Regions from separate parts of the Homo sapiens genome. Here regions 1, 2, 3, 5 and 6 are each linked to region 4. Evidence: promoter capture Hi-C in 16 types of primary human blood cells and fetal thymus (Javierre and others, 2016). All regions are on one chromosome and are shown on one strand. The core of a region is centred on a gene start or on the middle of the fragment in contact, and the rest is flanking DNA. Distances in the headings are between cores, read along the strand shown. Region 1 holds the start of CHRM3 (cholinergic receptor muscarinic 3). Region 2 has its middle 430 kb from the start of CHRM3. Region 3 has its middle 63 kb from the start of CHRM3. Region 4 holds the start of CHRM3-AS1 (CHRM3 antisense RNA 1). Region 5 has its middle 18 kb from the start of CHRM3. Region 6 has its middle 36 kb from the start of CHRM3.

Region 1 (3,933 bases), core at 1,103-3,602, 510 kb before region 4:
TAGAAAGGCAAGTGAGTGCTATTAGCTAATTGTCCAGAACCAGAGTCTCATTTCATAACTGCATAAATCCTTTGCTTATCTTGTGTATTTTTTTAAACAAACCTAAAATGCAGGATTTCTAAGTATTTTCCAGTTCTAGCTGATTTCCTTCATTTTAGATGAAAATCCAAAGGTAAATACTCTTTGGTTTCTGATTTTTGGCATCTTGTAAATAAGCATTGCCTCCAGTTTGGTTCATTCTCAGATCTATTAAGTATCCCATTTATATTTTCCTCTGAAATATAATTTGATAAATCTGCTGAATGATCGGGCACCAAGGTCAGGACCAATACCTTATTCAAGCCCAGCATGAATCCACTTACCAAGAAACTGGAGGCAACTCTGTCTAAACTGTAATTTGTTTGATACAAACATGCCATCTACATTTACCTTGTCCATAATGATAATGGGAAGGTTAGCTGAAATCAGGAAATACTGTATTATGAGTTTAGTGACTATTTACAAGTGGAAATGAATTTAATCTGGTATGATTTATTTTACTAAATTGTAGTTGCTTCCTTTTCTTTTCTCACTAGTCACAAATGATTTATTTCAGTATCTTCTCCAGAACATTGCCAGAGGCCAGTCTCAAACTTAACCATTGTATACATACCAGAATATTTTCATTAAAAATTAATAACTTTTGTCTTTCTCTGAAAACTACATAATCACTACTTGTCCATTCTTTTGGTCCTTGCCTGTTCTTTATGGATCAATATTATCAAAGCTACTCCTGTTTCCACAGGCAAATAACAATTCTATGTAATGGGAAAGATATTAAATCCGAATTCATGTTCCTCTTACTAGCTATATAATGGACAATTAAATTATTCCTTTAAATTCCTTTCTCCTTTAGTACACAAGGATAAAATACTCATTTGATTGTTTTAAAGATTAAAGAAGTATCTGAAAGTAACTGTTATATTTTCTTCTGAGAGGTATCCCAATAAAAAGGCTACAATATTGTTATTATTATTACTATTCTAGTATCCTGGATGCAATTTACCTAAGCCTAGATATTTTAATTAATTTAAGTAGCCACATGCTTTCTCACTAGCTATTTTCCCAGCATGATCTCAATCTTTTCTACGCAAAGTTTAGTCTCTTCTCTCCTAAAGATTGTTCTACCTAGAGAAGAATATAGGTTCAGAAAGGAATTCATATACTGGTGTTTCTCTAATCTCTTAGAATTACTTAATTTTTCAAAGAGCTCTATCTTTTCCTATTTATCTTCTTGTTCCAAATAGAATTAAAATCATTTGCTGCCTTTAATATTGTTAAATATTTCATTTCATACTATGCTTCAATTTCTTGCTTTTTTCTTCTTTTTATCTTCCTCCTTCCTTCCTTTTTCTTTCTTTTCTTCTTTTTCAGTTATCATTGTTATGCTTGTCCTTTCTTGTGAGATTCCTCTGTTATCTTTCCTTATGTGCTTTTTAAACAAAACCTCGAGAGTGCCGTGGGACAGCCTCATTGGTATCTTTTCAAATTTGGTATCTCTCCACTTTTTCCTTACATAGTTAGCTGGCAGTAGTACATAATAACCTTTTCTGTCTCTCTCTCTTTCTTTCTTTCTTTCTTTCTTTCTTTCTTTCTTTCTTTCTTAGATTTTCATTCCTCTTGAGCTTTAAAAGACTGGCTAGCAATGTTATATCTTTCATTTTATTTTCTGATTTAAAAAAGTGTGTGTGTGTGTGTGTGTGTGTGTGTGTGTGTGTGTGTGTGTACGCGCGCGCGCGCGCGCGTGCACGTCAGTGTCTTCTTCATGGATGCTTGTCTTATTTTCTCCCAAGGTGTAACTGTCCAGGGAGGGAAAAGTCAAGTCGTCCTCTATTACACTGCTCTGCAGAAACAGACTCACTAAATGTCAAAAAGTAGATGCATCAGACTGTTCCTTAGAGAAAGGTTTGCCATGGAGTCGTATATTGTAACTGAGCTGAAGTTCACTCATCGATAAGTTGTGCCCAAGGAATCGAATTCCTTCCAGTCCTTCTAAGCAGTCCAGGGAAACCAATTTAAAAGCGAACACAACAAAACTAACAGACCGGCAAAATCTATCTTTGAAGCGCCGCGGGAGGCACAATTTGGGAACAGGTGAGGCCATGCTGGGTGGGTGAGGCCCCCCTCTCTCCTGCTTGGTGTTCCGCTTTCAGCCAACCCACCCCAGGAGTACCCTGGGATCTCCTCGCCCCCTGCCAGGCGGAGAACGCGGAGCCCAGCGGGCACGCGGGAATGGAGCTAGGCGCCGGCAGGGCAACTGGGCATGCTCAGAAGCCGGGCAGGTTTTGGTCTCAAGCACGCAGCCTGTGCATTACACCAGCTCTCTCAGTCCGGGGAGGAGGAGGAGCAGGAGGAACGCGAGGAGGAAGGAGAGGAGGAGCGGCCAGCAGTAGCCACGACCGCCACCACCAGGCAGAGGAAGAGTTCGTGGGGAGGAAAAGACCTCTCCTCCCCCTTGGAGCGCCTTCTCTCTGCTTTTGGAGAAAGGGAATACACGATAAAGAAGGAGACGGAAAGAAGAGAAAAAGTGAGGCGGGAGACAGAGGGAAAAGGGCGTGAACAGAAAGGGCCGGAGCGTGCAGGGGAGCACAGGGCGCGGGGGCGGCACTGCCGAGCCGGGAGCGCTGCCGCTTGGGCAGGTGCCGCGGCCGCTGCCCGGAGGCGGCATGTGACGCGCGGCCGCAGCTGCCCGCGGGCGGAGCGCTCTCAGACCCCGGAGCGCACACCGCGGGGCCATCGGTGCCATCGCGGATCTCCAGGCTCCTCATCAGTCCGCCGGGGCCGCAGCAGCGCTTCTGGGAAGACGGGCGATGAACTGAAGGGCGGCTCCGGGCAGGGGGGCACGATCTTAAGGACAGTCGCTCCCTGAACGCGGAGCCGGAGGAGACGAAGGGAAGGTGGAGCGGACGCCACCCGCGCACCGGGCAGGCGCGGAGACCGGCGTGGGACAGCCACCTGGAGCGCAGCTGCCAGGTAGGGACGGCGCCCGCCACCCAGGCGCTGGGCAGAGCGGGTGGCGGTAGCGGCTGACCTGGTTTCTTGCCTTATCTCGTTGCGAAAGGAGGAAAAAGTTTTCGGCGCGGGTAGGAGAGGTCTTGTGTTTGGAGTCCAAAGAAGGGGCTGGGTAGGGACGAGAGAGGCTGTTGATTTGGGGAAGATGGGGGCACTTGAATTCCGACAGCGCGATCTGGTGCGGAGTTGGAGTTCTGGGACTGAGGGTGGGGAACGCCCGCTGGCACTCAAGTGCCCCGAAAGGGACGGGAATCATGCGAGCGGTGGCCGGGAGAGAGTCGGGGACGTCCCACCCCGCTCTCCCTCGCTTCGATTCTCTCTTCGCCACTGCCGGATCTGAGGCTCCAAAGTGCCCGAGCATGAGGAGCTACTGGGCTCCGGGTGTGTTTGTGAGCGCACTCGTGTGTTGAGCGTTTGTCTCCCATCTCCCCATTTGGTTTCCTGTCATTTCTAAGAAGGCTAAAGCTGGCACCCGCCAACCTCGCAGTGGGGCCGCAAGTTCGGATTGCATTTCAGGGGGCGAGAAGGCAAATTTGGCACTTCGAGTAACACTTGGGCGAAGGTACCTAGCCTAGTGCGCATCTTTACTGACCCGGGGAGAGTCTGCACTCGCGAGGCAGCGGCCGCTGGACTGCACCGGTTCTCCTCTTTGGAACACTTCCTCAGCATAGCCTCCTAATAGCGAGGTTAATTTTTGCGTGTTTTTAAACGGCGGGGGCGGGCGGACAGTTGACTCCAGCAGCAGAATTCACTTGTCTACTTCGCGGTGTGCGTGCTGGAATTGAGATCCTGTTCTGCATGCTTGTGCGTGTGTCCGACTCTCCTTGCACGCATTTGGAAGTGGTAGAGGCAGCAGGGATTTGGGAACTGCATCCATATGGA
Region 2 (3,778 bases), core at 596-3,095, 950 kb before region 4:
CAGAGAATGCATCTGAATATAATAATCAATTCATTCGCGTATTTATTCATGTATTTGCTATGTGAAAAAGATTTTTCTATTGATGTCTGTACTCACCCTTAATGACAAGCCCACAAGCCAATTGAACGTAATAGATTTTCTGTGGAAATTCATAGCAGGTAGGAGAGAGACCTCACAAGACTACAGTGATAATTTAAAATCTAGAACTCTCCTCTCTTAGTAAGATTTAATTTAAATAATTTTAAGCAACCAGACCCCAGACTCTCTCCTGCCTCTAGGTACCCTCAATGTCCCTCAATTCCTTTTTGTTTTCTTCTTAGGTAGAATGTTTGACCATCCTCTGCTAGCCTCCTTCACACCCAAACAGTCACATGTTACCTTACACCTTTAAGTGACTCAGCAGGGATTTTCCTTTAAAAAGACCATTCTTTCCCTGAAAACAACTCTGATTTCAGCTAGCAAAAAAATAGTGACTTTATTATGTCCATGCAAGAATATTATATTTAAGAAACATGTTCATGTAGCATAGGTATGTTTTTGAATACATTTGCAGTCCTTTATTTCCTGACATTATCCGCTGGGCAAAGATAGGTAAAGATGACATATTAACAATATGCTACTATAATCAAACAGATATTGATAGCAAGCAAAACGTCTATCTGTTCAAGTATGCTGATTAAGTAATCTACTGTAATTGCCCTTTCTCTGTAGTGTAGTCACTGCGGTCTCCATAATTTTACTCTTAGAGATTCCGTCCATTGGTGAAGCACTGCCCTCTTCAGGCAAAATCGCCTAAAGTATCAATACTCACAAGAAAAATATACTTGAATCCATTTAATTTGTAAGAGCACCACTTTGGTGAGGTGACGCACACACAAACAAAATTCTAGGAAATGATACGAGTTTTGCCTAAATAGGGGTAATTTTTAGATAAACTGGTGAGGTTTTACACCTGTTTAAACAGCTGAATGTGTCTGACCTTCTTTAACTCTCTGAAATTCCATGAACCATAAAACCAAAGAGAAAGAAGGCAGTACTTTAGATTTATGCAATCCATCAACTGATTAGAAATTATTTCAAAAGTATTAGTTAAATCCACAGTTCCAACATTGTTTTCTACTCTTTATTATAAACAGCATGGTGCTGTCAGCTGTTACTGACTTGAGAACAAGTCTAATCACAGGGAACTACATTTCTAAACATGACTTAATTAGCCTAATGTGTTGTTTTAAAAATTAAGAGCATTTCAATGTCATGGTGAGAGATCAAGTGTTTTCAATTCTATTTAAAAGGATATATTTGGTAGTTGAAAAGCTAGCTCTATTGCTTTGTTCTTTAAAAGAGAATGGAAATTGCTCAGCCACATCACAAGCTTCTTCTGTAAGTTTCATTTGGGTCCATGATTCTTTTCATTGTAGAGAGCACAGTGGGAACAAAATAGCCCTGTTAATTGCCTGTTAATTCCCACAAAAATTTTAAATGTATCTCTACTTTTTATAAGACTATTTTGTACTATCTTGCTATAAAGGTATTTATCTTATTCATTCTAGGCATTAAAAATGTTTTAAAATCACCTTCGTATGAGTCCCCAGTTACATCCCGGGGGAATCTTGGACTATCAAATTAGAGACATCACTCTCAGCAAATATTTCATGTTGTAGACTCTAGGGGGAAAGCTGTAATGCTTCCCGACATGAGAAAAAGCAGCATGTCTGGAGAAAGAGCAATACTATGTGCCAATAATTAAGACAGACATGTTTCAAAATAGGAAACTAGAGTCAATTGTTAGAAGTTAAATAAAAGAATGAGTTGATTGTGTCAGAAAATGATTCTGTGAATGCAGTCTATGAAAATCTGCAAACTATAGAAAAAAATAGATGTTAAACATCTTAAAAATCAACAATATAGGCTGGGCGCGGTGGCTCACGCCTGTAATCCCAGCACTTTGGGAGGCCGAGGAGGGCGGATCACAAGGTCAAGAGATCGAGACCATCCTGGCCAACATGGTGAAACCCCGTCTCTATTAAAAGTATAAAAATTAGCTGGGCGTGGTGGCAGGCGCCTGTAGTCCCAGCTACTCGGGAGGCTGAGGCAGGAGAATCGCCTGAACCCGGGAGGTGGAGGTTGCAGTGAGCCGAGATCACGCCATTGCACTCCAGCCACGGTGACAGAGCGAGATGCCATCTCAAAAAAAAAAAAAAAAAAAATCACCAATATAAAAGTTTGGCTTCAGTCTTGTTCCCGATAAAATTTTATGTTTATGGCTACTTTTTTAACATTCAAATAAGTAAAAATTAATCACAGGTTTAAGAATGATTAAAGCTTGTTATATTATAAAACTAATTTTAATGACTAGTAGGTTAATATCAAGTTTGACCAGTAGGTGCTCAGTGAAGGACGCTGCTTTGGAATGAAATATGCTGGACTCAAGTTAGATTCTCTTTAGGAACTTTCACAAGGCAGTTCTCGTTTGCAAAATAGATTTCTGAAGCCAGATACTTGGATTCCAACATTTGCTCTTTGTTAATTTATTACTTGCCTGTACATTTGCTCCACAGTCTCTGTTTCTTCGTCTATTAACAGAGATATAAATCTTCATCTCTCAAGGGTGTTGTGTGGATAAACTCAGACAGCATGTAGAGGTTCTGTATTACACTGCTTGACACATCATAAATGTTCAGTAAGTGTCAGTTTTGTTTCTCTTCTCCTTCACCTTTTAGGTCACACTTGTAATCCCAGCACTTTGGGAGGCTGCGGTGGCAGATCATGAGGTCAAGAGATTGAGACCATCCTGGCCAACATGGTGAAACCCTGTCTCTATTAAAAATATAAAAATTAGCAGTGTGTGGTGGCGTGCACCTGTAGTTCCAGCTGGGGAGGCTAAGGCAGGAGAATCACTTGAACCCAGGAGGCGGAGGTTGCAGTGAGCCGAGATCGAGCCACTGCACTCCAGCCTGGCAACAGAGCAAGACTCCATCTCAAAATAAAACAAAACAAAAACAAAGCTATAACAAAGCTAATATAAACAAAGCCAGTATAACTGTCTATGACTAGTATAATTAAAACTAATAAATGTATATATGAAGATGCTTTGAAAATTTTAAAGTTATGTCACCCTTAGAACATGTTATTTGGAGAATGATCATCATGGAGCAATGAAAAAGGAGCGTCCTTTGTTTGTTCATAATCACCTAAAGAATATGATCATAAATAATATTTCTAAATGTAGAAAAGAAGTATTTATCACTTCACCTTATAAATACCCCAGTCAGAGTACTAAAGTCTATTTGATTTATGCTATGCTCATGGAGTTCCTTCTAATAATTTCATGAGTAGACTTTCATACAGGGGCTAATTCCTCAGACAACTAGCATCAGTTATCAGACCAAATTTAGCGTTGTGAAAAATTCTGGTTCGTATCTGGATTTTTGAATAAGTCTCTTATGTGTCTGGTTATATGATACGATAATAAACTGATTCATAGAGTAGCATGTTCAATGACAAAATGTGAGAATTTGATATTACAGCAGCTTGAAAGCAGAATAAAGTGCCACAATTTTAAGATAAAATTCAAGATCCTTTATTATCTGAATTAACACGTAATTCCTAATATTTTTTCCACTATTCTCACTCCCTATCCAGATCCTGCATTCCAGCTATTTTTTTACACTATTTTTAAATTCAATTTTGTTGAGATATATAACTTACATATTATAAAGTATACCCACTTAGGTCTGCATTCTGGCAAGTTTTTACAAATGTATACAGCAGTGTGTAT
Region 3 (3,549 bases), core at 214-2,713, 580 kb before region 4:
TGAATGCATTACCCAAGGTCATGCCAAAGGCTGTTAAAGTTAAGCAGAGGAACCTTATCAGAGTAAATCAGCAAGGCATGGCACAGCTTTGAGTTTACGTAAGAGGAGGCAGAAAGGTACAAATAATTGATATGCCAATTCAGGTAAGGGATCAGCTCTAGAAACCACCCTGCTCTATATAAATAACATGTATTTGTTCAGATGTTTGTCTTGATAATTGTCCTCCCTTTTTTTTAATTTTTTGTTCAAGAGATGCAAAAGCTTCAGGAGGATGGATCCCAGGAAAGAAATCAATGGGCTCTGTGAACTATTTTGTGGCTCAGTTACCAATACCACAAGAGCAATTACATTAAATTAGATGCCACTGAACTGGCAGCTTTTATTGACCCTCTTAAAGTCTTTCTCTCTCTCTTTCTCTCTTTCTCTCTCTCTCTCTTTCTCTCTCTCTCTCTCTCCCCCTCTCGCCTCTCACCCCTCCCTCACTTTTCTTGTGCAGTCACACTCTGCAATTGGCACTGAAAGTGGCTCCTAGCAGTTTTGTTACACTGAAGGATGTGTCAACATTTTATTGTGTGATGATTCTAAAGTGTTTATTATGAAGGCGCTCCGGTTTGCATTGGGTTCAATTTGGCGCCAGCTAGATACACATTTGTTCTTAGATTTTTTTTTAACTGCTATGCATGTTGGAGGGGAAGTTGGATGACATTGTATTTATTTTAAGTTGTCTTTTTGTTTTTCTAAGAGTGACAAAAGGAAGGGTGTTTTGAGAATAATCTTTTTTTAGATACTGATTTCTGCAAGCAAAAAACTTTTTCACATCTTAAAATAATTCCCTTTGTGAAAAAGATTATTTAAATTTGAGATACAGCTGTTATACACATTTATTGACTTCTCTTAGCATAGCAATTATTTACTCTACAGGACATCCCTATGCCACATGTTATAAAAAGCCCAGTGCTTCTCCAAAGCCCTTTGATAACTTAATAAGTTCTTGTAACCATTAATAAAAATTACTCTTGCTTCTCCTAATTTTTTCATTGAAAAATGTCATGTGACAATCTGACAAAAGTAAACTTGAAGCTGAATTTTACGTCGTAAATCTAAAGCAGATGGTACATTTGTTTTTTGTTGTTGATATTTTTAAAATAGCCTTTCTTAGTCCTTGTTTTTCATCTTCAGATATTTATTGAATACTTGCTGCATTTGACACACTGACCCTGGGACTCTGAAGTTCACAAAGTATAGTTAGGTAGTCCCAAAACTCAATGAATGTATAATCTATTATGAAAAAGCGATTATGTTTGTATTTTCTGACACCTCAAATAATGTACAATCTGAGTATAGAGAAGGAAAAGATAACTTCTAAACTGGGGTTGTGAAGAGCACTGCTCCAGGCTATATTTGAGCTGGAAGATGTTTAGGACTTCCGCATGTGACATTAGGATTTGAAATCCTGGAAAAAGAGCATGAGCAAAGCGAGGGAAACAACAGGACACAATAACTCACTGGGAGGCCACCTATTTTGACAAAGCCATAGGAAAGTGATTTAATAGAAGGCTGAAAGGTGAACCAAGATTTAATTGTAGAAGGTATTTACTGTCAATCTAAAGAAGCTATTTGTTATTCAGAAGATAATGGAATCACTGCTGAGATATTAGTTAAAATATATATATATATATATATATATATATATATATATATATATATATATATAGCCACTAACAAATTTCTGTTTGGGAAAGATAAATCTGATGGTTGAGAATGGGAAAAATCAAAATGTAAAAAATAATAAAGTCAATAATATATTACTATGACTATTATTAGTACTATGATAGTTAGAGACATTCATTGTCACATTTCCTCCTTTTGGCCCTAAAATAGCTGTGAGGGATACGTCCATCTTTGCTCTTCTTCTTCTTCAATAGATCAGAAAACAGCCAGCTACTCTAGTCTCTCTGACGGGATCCTAACCTACTTCCAATTCTGTAGCCCTATGAGATTGGCAAACTCTTTTGATGATATCTTGGGTAGTTACTTTCCAGCCAAGGTTTTTATGTGCCTTACCAGACTCCAGGGCACTGCTATGCAAGGGTAAATCTCATCAGATATCTCAAGTCATGTTGGAGTCTTTTCCCAATTTCTTTCTCTTAGCACATTATCTCATCCCAATTTTCTAGGAAAATGAATCCTTCTAATTTTTTCCATATTCTATTCTGATGGAACCCTTGGAAATTCTGTATTAGCACTAGGCAATGTGTCTCCTTGCATTTCTGAAACTCACACTATTTCATCAGGCTTTCCCATCCTTCAGCTAATGCAGTTGGCCAACTCTTTCCATGGGCTGACGAAGAGAGAAACACATTTTTAAGATAGTATAACTAACGAAACAGAGAGTAGAAGATACATTAATAAATCAAAAACAGTTCCAATTTTCTGAACCTAAGGACTGAAAGGTTCAATATTGAGAATCCCTTCCTTCTTGAAGCACTCACTTCTCTTGACCTACAAGACATAGAAATATTTTGGAAGACACAAATCCTCTTTCTCTCTCTGGCCAATCTCTCTCTACATTTCTGGTTTATTTTCCTCTTTTCATCCTTGAGGTGTTCCATATAATTATTAGTGGAAGTCAGCAGCAGAGTCAGGCTTTAGAAGAAAATGAACTCAAGCTTAGACATTAAGAATTTTGTTCACAAGTAAAATAAGAGATATGATAATTGTAGCATCAGTAGTGGATGAACTCCAAGGAAGGAAGGAGTAAAAGAACCAGAAAATAGGGAGAGGATGGTCAGGGAGACAGACTGAGAACTTAGTAAGATATTTCTATCTTGTAAGTGAAGGGAGGTAAAATGTTCCAAGAAGGACATTCTCAGTGATCAATAAGGTCAGATTTTCCCTATAGATATAAAAGCTTATAATCCAACAAATTAGGAAAAAAGAAAGAGTAAAGTTTGAGAAGGCAGCAAGGTAAAGTGGATTTAGTATTGGATTAAACCAATGGTTGCATGAGAAGAAGATAGTGAGTCTTAAAATAGGAAAGGAGCTATGCTAAATATTCTTTACAGATAGAAAGTCCAATTTAAACTAACTTAGAGAAAAAATATATTCGGTTATGTAAGTGATCATTCAGGAAATCAGTAAGTGTCATCAGGTTCTGGTCTCTCTCCGCCTTTCAGTTTTGTTCTTGTCCATATGTCGATTTTATTTTCAAACACAATGTGATTTCAGCATGGCTGCTAGTGGCTCCAAGCCCACATCTTCTCATGTCCAGAGCTAGTGAAAAGGAATGTCTTCTTTTCCCCAGTGCTTATGAAAGTACACAGCCCCGATTCTCATTGGCCTGAGTTGGGTCAAGGTACATCACAAAAAACTTTAATTATAGCTGGTGGTTTTCTGATTGATCAGACTCAAGGCTTCTACTCACAGCTGAAGTCACCTCTATCTAAAGTGTCAGGATTGAAAAGGGGAACAAATGGTTCCCCTGTAAAAGACTGGGTAAGTTACCAAGAAAAGGGTAAATAGATATCAGGTTGGTAAAACAAAAACAAA
Region 4 (3,500 bases), core at 772-3,271:
TTTCAGCAGCTACTGCTACACGTAAGAGGTCCTGATGCAAATCCTTTTCCAAGCACCCTGCATTGTTGTTGTCAAGGTCCATATTTATCAAATCAAGTAAAAACCCATGAAAAGTGGCAACCGAGGGAGGAGGCAGCAAGATAAATCAACTTTCTAAAAAAAAAATTCCCCTTTTTAAATAGAATTTTATTCCGGTTTTGGTGTTCAGAGATGTTTTGTTCACAATAAGAGCCATTGCTCCATATTAGGTAACATCTTTTCCCCCTTGCAGCTTCAAATGAATATCAAGAGCCAGGTTCACAAGTTGGATTCCCTTTAAAGACACGTTTGATTGCAAAGCTTTGTTGACTCTGTTTGATATCCTCCGCGAACTGCATGACTGAGCTAAGCTGAAGTTCCTGGTCACCAGCATGGGGAACGGGTAGCTGCTTCAGCGCCTGCTGGCAGAGAGGTCGTTCTCCGAGTCTGCTTTGCCACCTAGTGGTTTGATGTGGTATTGCCATTCACCAGGTAGTTTTAAAAGTCATTTTAGCCGTTGAATGCTATAGTGAATTATGACAGAAAACAGAGACACTCTAAGCAAAGAAGGCAGTCAGAGACCCAAAACAAGCCCTGAAAAATGACGCAGACTGGATTACAAATAGGGAAGAGGCACTAAATAGTTGGTCTGAGAAAAAACGCACGGCTGTATGTTGCAAAGATATTTTGGGTTTTTCCCATATCATCACTTAAAAAAATAATTATTATTATAGACGTAGAATTAATTTAGACTTCTAGAAAAATTTATACGCTTTTAATTGGTTCAGCAGGTTTAAAAATCGAGAGCCCTCAAACATTTTTCCCAAGTAGGTACTGCCCGGTTGGCTCAGAGGACATGAAATGAGTTTATCTCCTTGGAATTCATTATAACCAGAAGCCTCACATGTATATTGGCCTTGTCCGTTTCTGTAAGCAATCTCACATGTATTTCACACTGGATATTTACACATTTTTAAATTTTTTAAATTTACCTATATATTTCACAGACTTATAACCCCAGAAAAGTTATTTTTTGCCATAACTAGGGGGAAGAAGGCAAATTTCCTAGAACTAACCTTCAATTTCTCCTAAATTCAGTACTGTCAAACTTTTTTGTCTTTTTTCACATTTTTTGTTTCACCCTCTTCTTTTAAATATTAATAAAAGATGTCAAAATATCCACTGCAGTGGCTTTCCAACATTATTCAACACAAAATACATTGTACGTACATCATGACTATAGACATAATTTTATACGTGTGTGTATGTCGAGCAAAAATTTAATGAAGTGATATTGATTGTCATTATGTGGTATGCATTCTGATACGTCCTATTCAATTTGCTGTACATTTTTTTCTTTTTTAATTCTCATATTGGCCCACTAATTGGCTCTTGCATTTTGAACTCAGTGTGTGTGTGTGTGTGTGTGTGTGTGTGTGTATATACACACACGCATATATATCTATTGAATTTAGTGTGTGTGTATATATACATAAATACATATATACATATATAAACACATATACATATACACACATATACATATATACACACATATCTATACACATGTATGTATATGATATGTATATACATACGTATATATGTGTGTATATATACTCACACACATGTATATATACACACATACCAAGTTCAAAATGCAACAGCCAATTAGCGGACCAATTAGTGTGTGTGTGTAGTGTGTGTGTATATATATAGTAAGTTCAACATGCAATGTATATATACACTAAGTATATGTACATTGTATATAAGTAAGTATACTAAGTACATAGTATATATACACGATATAAGTACACTAAGTATATCGTATATATATACTAAGTATATATACATACACACAGATGTAACTTCCCCACAAAGGCACTGATGGTACCCACGTGCAGGATCTTGCGCAGTTTTCCACTTCTTGCCTGAGCTCTGGTGCCTGGAACACTTCAGTAACCATTCCCTGAATGTTGCACCCACAACCTGGCAGGGAGGGAGCCTGCTCTGACCCCAGAGAGGAGCCAGGCACCTGCCCCTGGTCTGCCCCTATCTGACCATGCCCTGAGCCCTCATGCAGGCTGCATTCCTAGAACTCTTGCCTGGGATTACTTATAAAGTGCGAAGGTCACTGGGCTGACAAGGATCTCTGTTCCCACCACCTGTTTATTCCTGAGCATTACAAGGAAAGACTTCCTGTAGGTCCCCTCACCAATATCATTCAATTCAATGAGTGTAGACTGTGAACTTCCTTGACTCAAAATATCCTAATGCTATGGAATAGCTGTTGAGTCAGGATGAGGAAGGAATATTAAACATAGGAATGATACCTTCTACTCAGAAAATCACCGTAAACTGAGGGCTCTTAGCCCGGGGTTATCACTGCTTCATTTGGGTCTGACCTACAGTCTTGATTCTCAGGAAGTTACATATTACCTATGAAATAATAGATATACCTGAAGTAAAACATTTGGTGACTCTCATTTCTAATAAGTACTTTTAGATATTCTTTTTTTTTTTTTTTTTTGAAATCCTTATGACCGGCTGATCACTTTCTCCTGTTGTCATCCTGGGTACCGATAGGACCTCCGTTGCTGAGCCTCCAGAGAACAGTCCTTTTAATGAGGCCGTGGCCCCAAGGCCTCGGAGAAGTTCATAGAAAATGTCTGAAAGAAGGTGGGAGGGATCTTGTTTCCTGGCCCTATAGGGACATTGTCTTCCTTGATAAAGCTGGGTACAGCCTTGATATGAATAGATTGGGGAGCACCAGGAATGTACCTCACCTGGGCTGTCGAGAAAAGACAGTGTGCTCAGAAGAGGTATGGCAGGTGCTGAATATTCCCTTGGAGGGACGAAGGCAAGAAAGGCCCCTACAGCAATGAGGGGAGAAAATCCACAACCCAAGTAGAACTAGGATTTCTTATGTGTGAGACAATACATTGCTCATTTACATGTAAAGTGTGTATAATATTTTTAATCCATCGTATTCAGGCGAGCAAGATCAGTCATTTCATTTTTGTATAACTTGCCTCGAAGCTGCCTGTTGTGGCCCCATTCTGCATAGCAAATCACCACAAACTTAGCAGCTTACAACAAGGTTCCCTGTTCAGGGTCTCAACACTGAAATCAAGGTGTTCGCCCAGCTGAGTTTACGTCTTAGGCAAGACTAAGGAAGAATTCATTACCACAGGCATTCAGGTCATCGGTGCTTCTGCCATGGTGACCTAGTGACCTCTGAGCAGCTGCCACCTCTGGGCACCAGACAGGAGGGCATGAGGCACGCATCTTCTTTGAGTCTGATCAATATTATCAGATGCGACCTCTTTTTCCTCCAACCTTCTCCGCATTTAAAAGCAACAGCAGAGTGTAAGGCAAGATTCCAAGCCCTCCTTGGCAACCATCACCAATATCTGCCCCCTTTTAACTCTCTTCTTCACTTCCTTCTGGCTTCGGAAACTTTGGGATTTTTTTTTTTTTCCTCA
Region 5 (3,780 bases), core at 199-2,698, 530 kb before region 4:
TCTCCAAACACACTTCTTCCTATAGTCCTGGTTCCTCACCTTCACAAGTCAAAAGAATTTCTATAAGAGAACAGATTAAAGTGTCCTTACATGAATTCTAAAGAACAGCTTTCTTCTCACTGATAACTCCCTTTATAGGTACATATGTGTGTATGTGTGTGTGTGTGCATGTGTGTGTGTATTTGAAGTTTCTCTAACTTATTAAGTAATTTATCATTCATACATCTTTGCACCTTTGTATATTTAGATTCAGAATTATAGATAACTCCTAATTTAATAACAGATGAAATCAGTGTTTCTGCTTCCTGGTGGGGGCAGAAACTTTGCTAAATTGTCTTCTTATACCAGAAATCCATTAAATTCAATTTTAACAATGACATTCTTTTTAACAAGCAAGATTATAGAAAATATTGCCCTTCAGATATTCCAAATTAATAACAATACTGTATTCAACATGTTTTATATTGCCATATCCATGCTGGGTATTAAATTTTATTCTGAATATTAATCAAAGTAGTAGAGAATGAATATCATCTTGTTTGAATTTGCGTATTTAAGATCTAGAAATGGTATTGTCTCCTGGAAAAAAAGGTGCCTAAAAATTTAGAACAGAGCTGAAAACCGCTAATTCTGCTTTCCTAGTGAAACAGGGAAGACTTCATGAAAGACCTGATATTTCACCTATATCTTCAAAGATTTGTCTACTTTAAAAAAAGACATTTAAAGAGGGAATTATATATCACAAGAGAATGGAAGCAAAAAAGGCGACAAGCATGTTCATAGAATAGTGAGAGATTTGAGATATGGGAGAACAAAAAAAGATAACATATGAGAAAGAATTTTGAGAAAAGTCAAAAGTTTACATGAATTCAAAGACATTATTCAAAGGCATTATTTTTATTGATATCGGTTGCATTTTCTTCCTGGAGTTTTACATCTTCTCAATGAATAATATATATACCTAATGGTCTAGTTTACAAAGAACCCACAAATCTTCTTCAAGAGAGCCCTAGAAGAGATTCAATTCCAATTTCATAAGAATTATTACTTGATAAAGAACTCATAAAACTGTCATAGTTGAGAATTAGGCTATAGCCAATGGTTGCTATTCATTGTGCAAATTCCCCTAAGCCCAGCTGTTTTCAGCACACGACTCGTGGGCAATTCCACGTGCATAGCCAGTGCCCATACCAGGAATGCCTGTCTGCTGTTCAAGGCCTTCTCCCTTGCCACAGGAGACCATGGAGCTGCAAGCTAGCTCAACACACAAAGGCAGGGGAATTAATACCCCAGGATAAATCCTTCACAAGTGAGAGTCAGGAGTCTTGAGGAAAGCCCCAGCAATCCTGTCCTCTAAGGAGACAATGCTAAGGACTGTTCTGTACAGTTCCTCAGAGGCTCCATGGGGACTGAGCCTCTACTTCCTCACAGAAGCAATTGCATCATGGAGCACATAGCTGACTCCTCTTCCTTCTTTTTCTCATTTTCCTACCTCTCTCACTTCTGCTTCCTAAAATGTCCCCCTGAATAAACGATCTATACCCATTTCTTCTTCTTGGGCACTGGCTTTAGGAAAATCAAAATAGGATGGATACTTAACAAATGATGTGCCTCTACTATTTATCTGTTTCTATCAACCCAGTATAATTTACAGGCATCCAGCTTTTCCATTTCCTTATTAGAAAAAATGAAAAATAGTTTTCAGTTATGGCTGGTGTTTTTTAACTTGCTGGCACTGATTCTGTGTATTTTGGATGAAAACTTTATCCATGATACATAAAGGGAGGACACAAAACTGAGAACCAGAAAATCCATATTTTAGTCCCAGGTTTTGTACTACCTAGAAGTGAGACTATATAGAAATCATTTTCTCTCTCTAAAACCTCAGCTTCTTGCTTTATTAAAATGAAGGTGTTGATGTAAAAGATTATCCCAAGGCTTTGATTTCATTATTCCATGAAATTATAAAGAGGCAGGCCTGCTTTGGACAAAGCTGTCAGTTGGACATGTTTCCCGGTGGTCAACAGGACACAGTTGGGAGTCTTATGGGTACCTGCTGCCTTGCTTCCCCATGCTTGGAGCAATTTCTGACCAGTACTCAATCCAAATCTATCCCTTGCTTGGATAGTTCCTAATGCCTCAATAGCCCACAGCTTTAAATATACACACATTTAATATATGTGAATAACAAGTTCTATCTGCTTCTAAAGAATATTACGAAGTAAACCATGTTAACAGGAAATTGACTAAGAAAGACAAGCCCACAAATTCCATGCTAGCCCTGCGTTCTTCCCACCTTCTTATACAACCCTCTTAGGTAACACACATGAATGTAAGCGACCTTCTCTACACCAGTCACCTGACTTGTATTGTTCCTCAAGGGTGAGGAAGTGTCTAGACGAAAGGGAGGGGAGACCCAGTGGTAGGTGGAACTTTGTGCTCCACCTTTCACATAACAGGTTGCCAATTCAGCTGTACTGAGGACAGGCAATGGGAGAAGGCATTAAAAGGGAAAACTGAAATAGTTCCTTTGTTCTGACTGTAGAAATGCTGAAAGGAAATTCCTGTTTGCGGCAGGTGATTAAACACATTTTATTAGAGGCTGTTACACAGAGAGAGTTACTCACGCTGCATTCTTGCAATAAAATGGTTCATTTTCTCAGTTTTCTCATAATTTACTTTTCAAATAGTACTAACTAGATTTATCAACGATTTGATAACTTCCAGACTGCCTGTCAGAGTCCATTTAGGACACTTTAACCTGTTCTTTTATGGCAATAAAGCTCAAACTTATCCACCAAATTCCTCCTAAGATAAAGGAGTATGAAATTGTATTTAAGGTATTGTGGTGGACGGGTAGCTGACTATGTAGCTCAAACTGCCTGAGGACAAGCATGAGATTTCTCCAAAGCTTTCTCCTTCATCTTAGAAGCGCTCATGAAATTGCTTTCTACTCAAAAATAATAAAATTCAACTTACATTAATTTTAAAATTTTATATGAAATTATTTGCTAATTTCATCAAAAAGTTTAAGGAAGAATAGCATGATTTCGATTTTATGCTATATTCTTGTGCTTTTCATCTATTTGCAGGGTAAAAGAGAAATCTCTCTTTTCCCTCCACACCTCTGAACTCTTCCTATATCATGTATTCAACCTGGAAGGTAGACTTCCCCTGTTAATTATGAAGCATAATTTCTGTGCATCTGAATTCCTATACCATGTCTAAATGTGAAATTCAGTGTCAATTTCATTATCCTTGCCAGTGAAACATAAGTATCAAAATTGTCTATCAAGTGAAACTGGAAAAAAGGGGATATTATGGCATTTGTATCTTCAGACTTCATTATTCCTAATGTTTCCCATTATAGCCTGTACCAGCTGGACAAACCTAGAAATTATTTTTTGCTGCTGGCATCTTATCTTTGATGATATGTAGGGTAGGGTTCAAAGCGAACACCACACACAACAGAAACATTGATTTTGTTCCCTGTATTCCTTTACTTCCTTTTACCCCACAGACTCCTTTAACTTGCATTTCCTCCCTTTTATTTGACAAACCCACCACTGCCCTCCTCAGAGCACATTTTTGTAACTTTGTTTCTATCCCACATTTTCCTGTATGGCAGATACCATTGTTTTGTAATATGATAAAAACATAAAAAGTTTTTCCTCCTCATTTAACCACTCTCTATGAGTTTTGTATTTCAGAAATCATTTCTTTTCCTTGCTTAATCAATTACTACTCTGCTTTCCATAAATTCAGTAAGCTTGATAGCAA
Region 6 (3,684 bases), core at 894-3,393, 550 kb before region 4:
ATGATTTCATTTGCAGAAGTTGGATTATTTTCTGTACTTTGTGTAACTGTTACTGAAGCCTTCAGCCTTAATGTGATCATGCAAGGAAATACTATTTTTCAATGGAATAGAGAAGTAACACTATTATTGCTCTTTCCATTCCAGTAGAAACCTACCCAGGCCACATCAGCAATCTAGTCCTTCACTTGTATGTTCCTTCCTCGAGAAACAAGAATGTTAACCCAAAGTTGTTGATAAACTATTATTTCTAGTTTATCGTTTACAAAAGTTAATCTCAAATCATTACACAGAAATAGCAATGATAGCAGTATCATGTGTTAGTTAGCCTCTACCATGTTATGGCACTGATCTATACACGGTAGTATTGACATGTTTGGTAGTCACAGCTCATTGAGTAGCTAAGAAACTGATTAGGTAAGTGATGTTACACAACTACATGATACAATCAGAACGTAAACCTGGCACTCAGGTTCAAATTCTAGAAAAGTCACTGTTTATGCTGCAATCGGTAGCTTCAGCCAAATATCAGCATTCTAAGGCCCGAAAACTACTTTTCACCTTCACAACAGTAAAACTTTCAAGCTAGCATTCTAAATTAAGACTAAAAGGAACATTTAAAAATGAGTGTGTTTATTTTTATTTACTTTTGAAGGGGAAGAAGTAATCAGGAGTGTATTGTAACATAGTGAGGATCATAAAACATTTTGGCTTCTCATAAGTATCTGAAAACCAGAAAATTAATTTAAAAAGAATTCCAAAATGTATGGTTATAAGAACTTTTGTAAACACTCCATTCTTCAGGTTTTGTTTCTGTGGACTTTCTAACATAATAAATAGACCACCTCCTCTATAACTTGGAAAAATACACTTTAAATAAACTAGATAAAACAAGTTTGTATTTTTAGTAGAATGCTTGAAATCATGTTTTCAATTTAGGCTTCACTTCTGATAAAATATCATATTGGCCATCACAAATTCAGAGACTCAAGTTAGAGTTCCACTAGCCAGGTGCAGTGGCTCATGACTGTAATCCCAGCAGTACAGGAGGTAGAAGCAGGCAGATTGCCTGCGCTCAGGAGTTCGAGACCAGCTGGGCCAACATGGCGAAATCCCATCTCTACCAAAAATACACAGAATTAATCGGGTGTAGTGGCGCATGCCTGTGGTCCCAGCTACTTAGGAGGCTGAGGTGGCAGGATCACTTGAATTCCAGAGGCAGAGGTTGTAGTGAGTTGAGGTGACACCACTGCATTCCAGCCTGAGTGACAGAGTGAGACCCCATCTCAAAAAAAAAAAAAAAAAAAGAAAAAAGAACTCTACTAAAGTTTCCATATCTTTTCGAGTTTGTATTCTTGGCCTAAGATATTTCAAATCTAAAGAGATAAAAAATTACATAATTGGCCAATGTAAGCTTCATTTCTAGTATCACTTCCAACTATTTCTATTGAAATTGGACAAAGAAAACAAATAGTAAAAATAGCTACAAAAAATGATTCTGGGGAAATGAAGTTATTCGGGGCCAGTCTACAATAACGAAAAAAAAAAAAAAAAAAAAAAAAGAAACCAGTCCTAACAAGGAAGAATTTTAGTGAAAATAGGAGTTACATATTCATCAATAGTCGCAGACCTCCATGGTCAAAGCCTTGTGGATTATATTGTTTACTTTTTAAAAGATTGTTTCTGTTGGAGATAAAAAGAGGACCAAAACCATTTGAAGGTAGAATTCCAGAGGGCTGAGAAACAAACACAGCACCACTCATATAATCCTGATTTGGTGAAATAAATTATATTTTATGCTAAGTAGTATTTTCATTATTTCTTGCTTATGAGAAATACTTCAAGCTAGCTCACCCTAAATGATTTCATGTGCAAGTCATTGAAACGTCATTGAAACCTCTAGCCCTAAACACTATCTTCCAAATATGTCACAAGAATCTAGAGGGAATTAAATAAAATTTCTTTTCAATGATTTTTTTAATTATTGGATTTACTATCTCTTATGCAATACTAGCTAAAACATCTTCTGTTAACTGGCATGCAGGCAGATATTAGAGGAAAAGTAATTGAGTAATGACTTTTTAAATGAATCTAACCATGTTCTTACCTAATATAATTTAATAAATACTTATTGTCTTGTGCTTATTAGAGGAATCATTCAAAGGTTTTGCCAGTATCTAAAATCTAAAGGAAATTCTAAAGGTATGAGTCTACCATGCTTTGTTTAGTACTTTTATGATGACTGTGGACTATTTTAATGTGGGTCAGCCAAAAAGTGACCCTTCCATATCTAAAACTCCGCATACAATAATGTCAGGAATAAATGCTAAGTGGAATAACCAACAGGAAGACTCCACTATTAAATAGGAGTCTAGCTTCACTGCATATCTGAAAAAACATATTGGCAGGTCTACCTGCAAGAAAACTATTTAGTTTTGTCATCTGATTTTACTAAAGTCAGAAATGTGGCATCACACAGTGGAATGAAAAATACCTCCCATTTAATTAAATATCCTGTTGGTCAAGTATATGTCCACACTAAAGCATTATTCAATATACAAAGCACTGGTTTTTACTGTTGTACATAAATAGCCATAGAGAAAATCGCATGATTAATTAAATGTGCTATATAGTGACTCGCTGTGGCTAAATAAATAACCTTTGTCTATGCAGAAAATTTACACATTAGCAACAAATGATGCAAAATAGATGTGGGAAATCAGAAACCAAAATTTTCACTTTTCCTGGTTACAGTATAGAGTGTCAATAGTTCATACACATGCTACATTAAAACCTTTGTTATTTCTTCCAAAGAAACATTAGGAAAGTCTTAAGTTTTATAAATAGCATGGAAACAATGACGACCACCATTCTGATTACAAGCTTAGGACTCAAAAGAAGAGTGGTTTCCTTATTAGATCCATCATGTACTTTTTTTTTTTTTTTTTTTTTTTTTTTTTTGAGACGGAGTCTCACTCTGTCACCCAGGCTGGAGTGCAGTGGCGCCATCTCGGCTCACTGCAACCTCCGCCTCCTGGGTTCAAGCGATTCTCCTGCCTCAGCCTCCAGAGTAGCTGGGATTACAGGTGCCCACCACCAGGCCTGGCTAATTTTTTGTATTTTTTAGTAGAGACAGGGTTTCACCGTGTTAGCCAGGATGGTCTCCATCTCCTGACCTCGTGATCCACCCGCCTTGCCTTCCAAAATGCTGGGATTACAGGCGTGAGCCACCCCGCCCGGCCAATCATGTACAGTTTTTAGTGGAGTTGGCAGTACCCAGAGAACTGCCTGTGTACTGATGTTCTTTTTATTCCTGCTTTGTGACCTAACCTCACTAAAGTTAATACGTCCTACTTTTTACTACATTTAAAAAGGAATAAAAAAAAAAGCGAGAGAGAAGACAGAGAGATAATTGAAAGAGTAAGAGAAGGAACCAGGAGCCCGCGATAACATGAAATGGCAGCTAAGGAAATTATGTTTCCAGGGAGATGATGTTACCTAGTCTCGGAAACAAACTGTCTCCAAACTTAATGCCTTAAAATAACAGCTGCGTATTTGCTCATGATTCCGTGAGTTGGCACTTTGGGCTGGGCTCAGCTTAGAAGAATTGTCTTTGCTCACTCATGTCCTTTGTCGGGGCAGGTGGCATGACTGACCCTTCCCTCTCCTGGTTCTCTGTCAACCTCC

What was found. The method cuts DNA at HindIII sites, captures the fragments that hold promoters and counts their contacts. A CHiCAGO score of 5 or more calls a contact.
Region 1: the fragment with the promoter of CHRM3 here is called in contact with the fragment with the promoter of CHRM3-AS1 in region 4 in 14 of 17 cell types (activated CD4 T cells, megakaryocytes, naive CD4 T cells and 11 more); the score reaches 21.3 in activated CD4 T cells.
Region 2: a contact is called between a fragment that was not itself captured here and the fragment with the promoter of CHRM3-AS1 in region 4, in 1 of 17 cell types (megakaryocytes). The highest score is 7.3, in megakaryocytes.
Region 3: a contact is called between a fragment that was not itself captured here and the fragment with the promoter of CHRM3-AS1 in region 4, in 4 of 17 cell types (activated CD4 T cells, fetal thymus, naive CD4 T cells and 1 more). The highest score is 6.8, in activated CD4 T cells.
Region 5: a fragment that was not itself captured here is called in contact with the fragment with the promoter of CHRM3-AS1 in region 4 in 9 of 17 cell types (M0 macrophages, M1 macrophages, total CD4 T cells and 6 more); the score reaches 8.6 in M0 macrophages.
Region 6: a fragment that was not itself captured here is called in contact with the fragment with the promoter of CHRM3-AS1 in region 4 in 6 of 17 cell types (M2 macrophages, activated CD4 T cells, M1 macrophages and 3 more); the score reaches 8.3 in M2 macrophages.

Annotation. Positions count from the first base shown.
Region 1 is chr1:239,384,216-239,388,148 of GRCh38, forward strand. CHRM3 (cholinergic receptor muscarinic 3) reads left to right here and starts at 2,353. Exons shown (of 7, transcript NM_001375978.1): 1 at 2,353-3,012. RefSeq lists enhancers at 3,075-3,575, 3,576-3,933. The HindIII fragment of the contact is 9,736 bases long and covers 1-3,933 here.
Region 2 is chr1:238,951,229-238,955,006 of GRCh38, forward strand. No RefSeq gene overlaps it. Among named protein-coding and RNA genes, the nearest start is that of CHRM3, 430 kb to the right of the region's middle. The HindIII fragment of the contact is 950 bases long and covers 1,371-2,320 here.
Region 3 is chr1:239,322,003-239,325,551 of GRCh38, forward strand. No RefSeq gene overlaps it. Among named protein-coding and RNA genes, the nearest start is that of CHRM3, 63 kb to the right of the region's middle. The HindIII fragment of the contact is 2,408 bases long and covers 260-2,667 here.
Region 4 is chr1:239,897,851-239,901,350 of GRCh38, forward strand. CHRM3-AS1 (CHRM3 antisense RNA 1) reads right to left here and starts at 2,022. Exons shown (of 2, transcript NR_046582.1): 1 at 1,914-2,022; 2 at 169-542. The region is part of intron 6 of CHRM3 (cholinergic receptor muscarinic 3); the gene reads left to right. The HindIII fragment of the contact is 7,774 bases long and covers 338-3,500 here.
Region 5 is chr1:239,366,190-239,369,969 of GRCh38, forward strand. No RefSeq gene overlaps it. Among named protein-coding and RNA genes, the nearest start is that of CHRM3, 18 kb to the right of the region's middle. The HindIII fragment of the contact is 2,922 bases long and covers 1-2,909 here.
Region 6 is chr1:239,348,728-239,352,411 of GRCh38, forward strand. No RefSeq gene overlaps it. Among named protein-coding and RNA genes, the nearest start is that of CHRM3, 36 kb to the right of the region's middle. The HindIII fragment of the contact is 1,469 bases long and covers 1,410-2,878 here.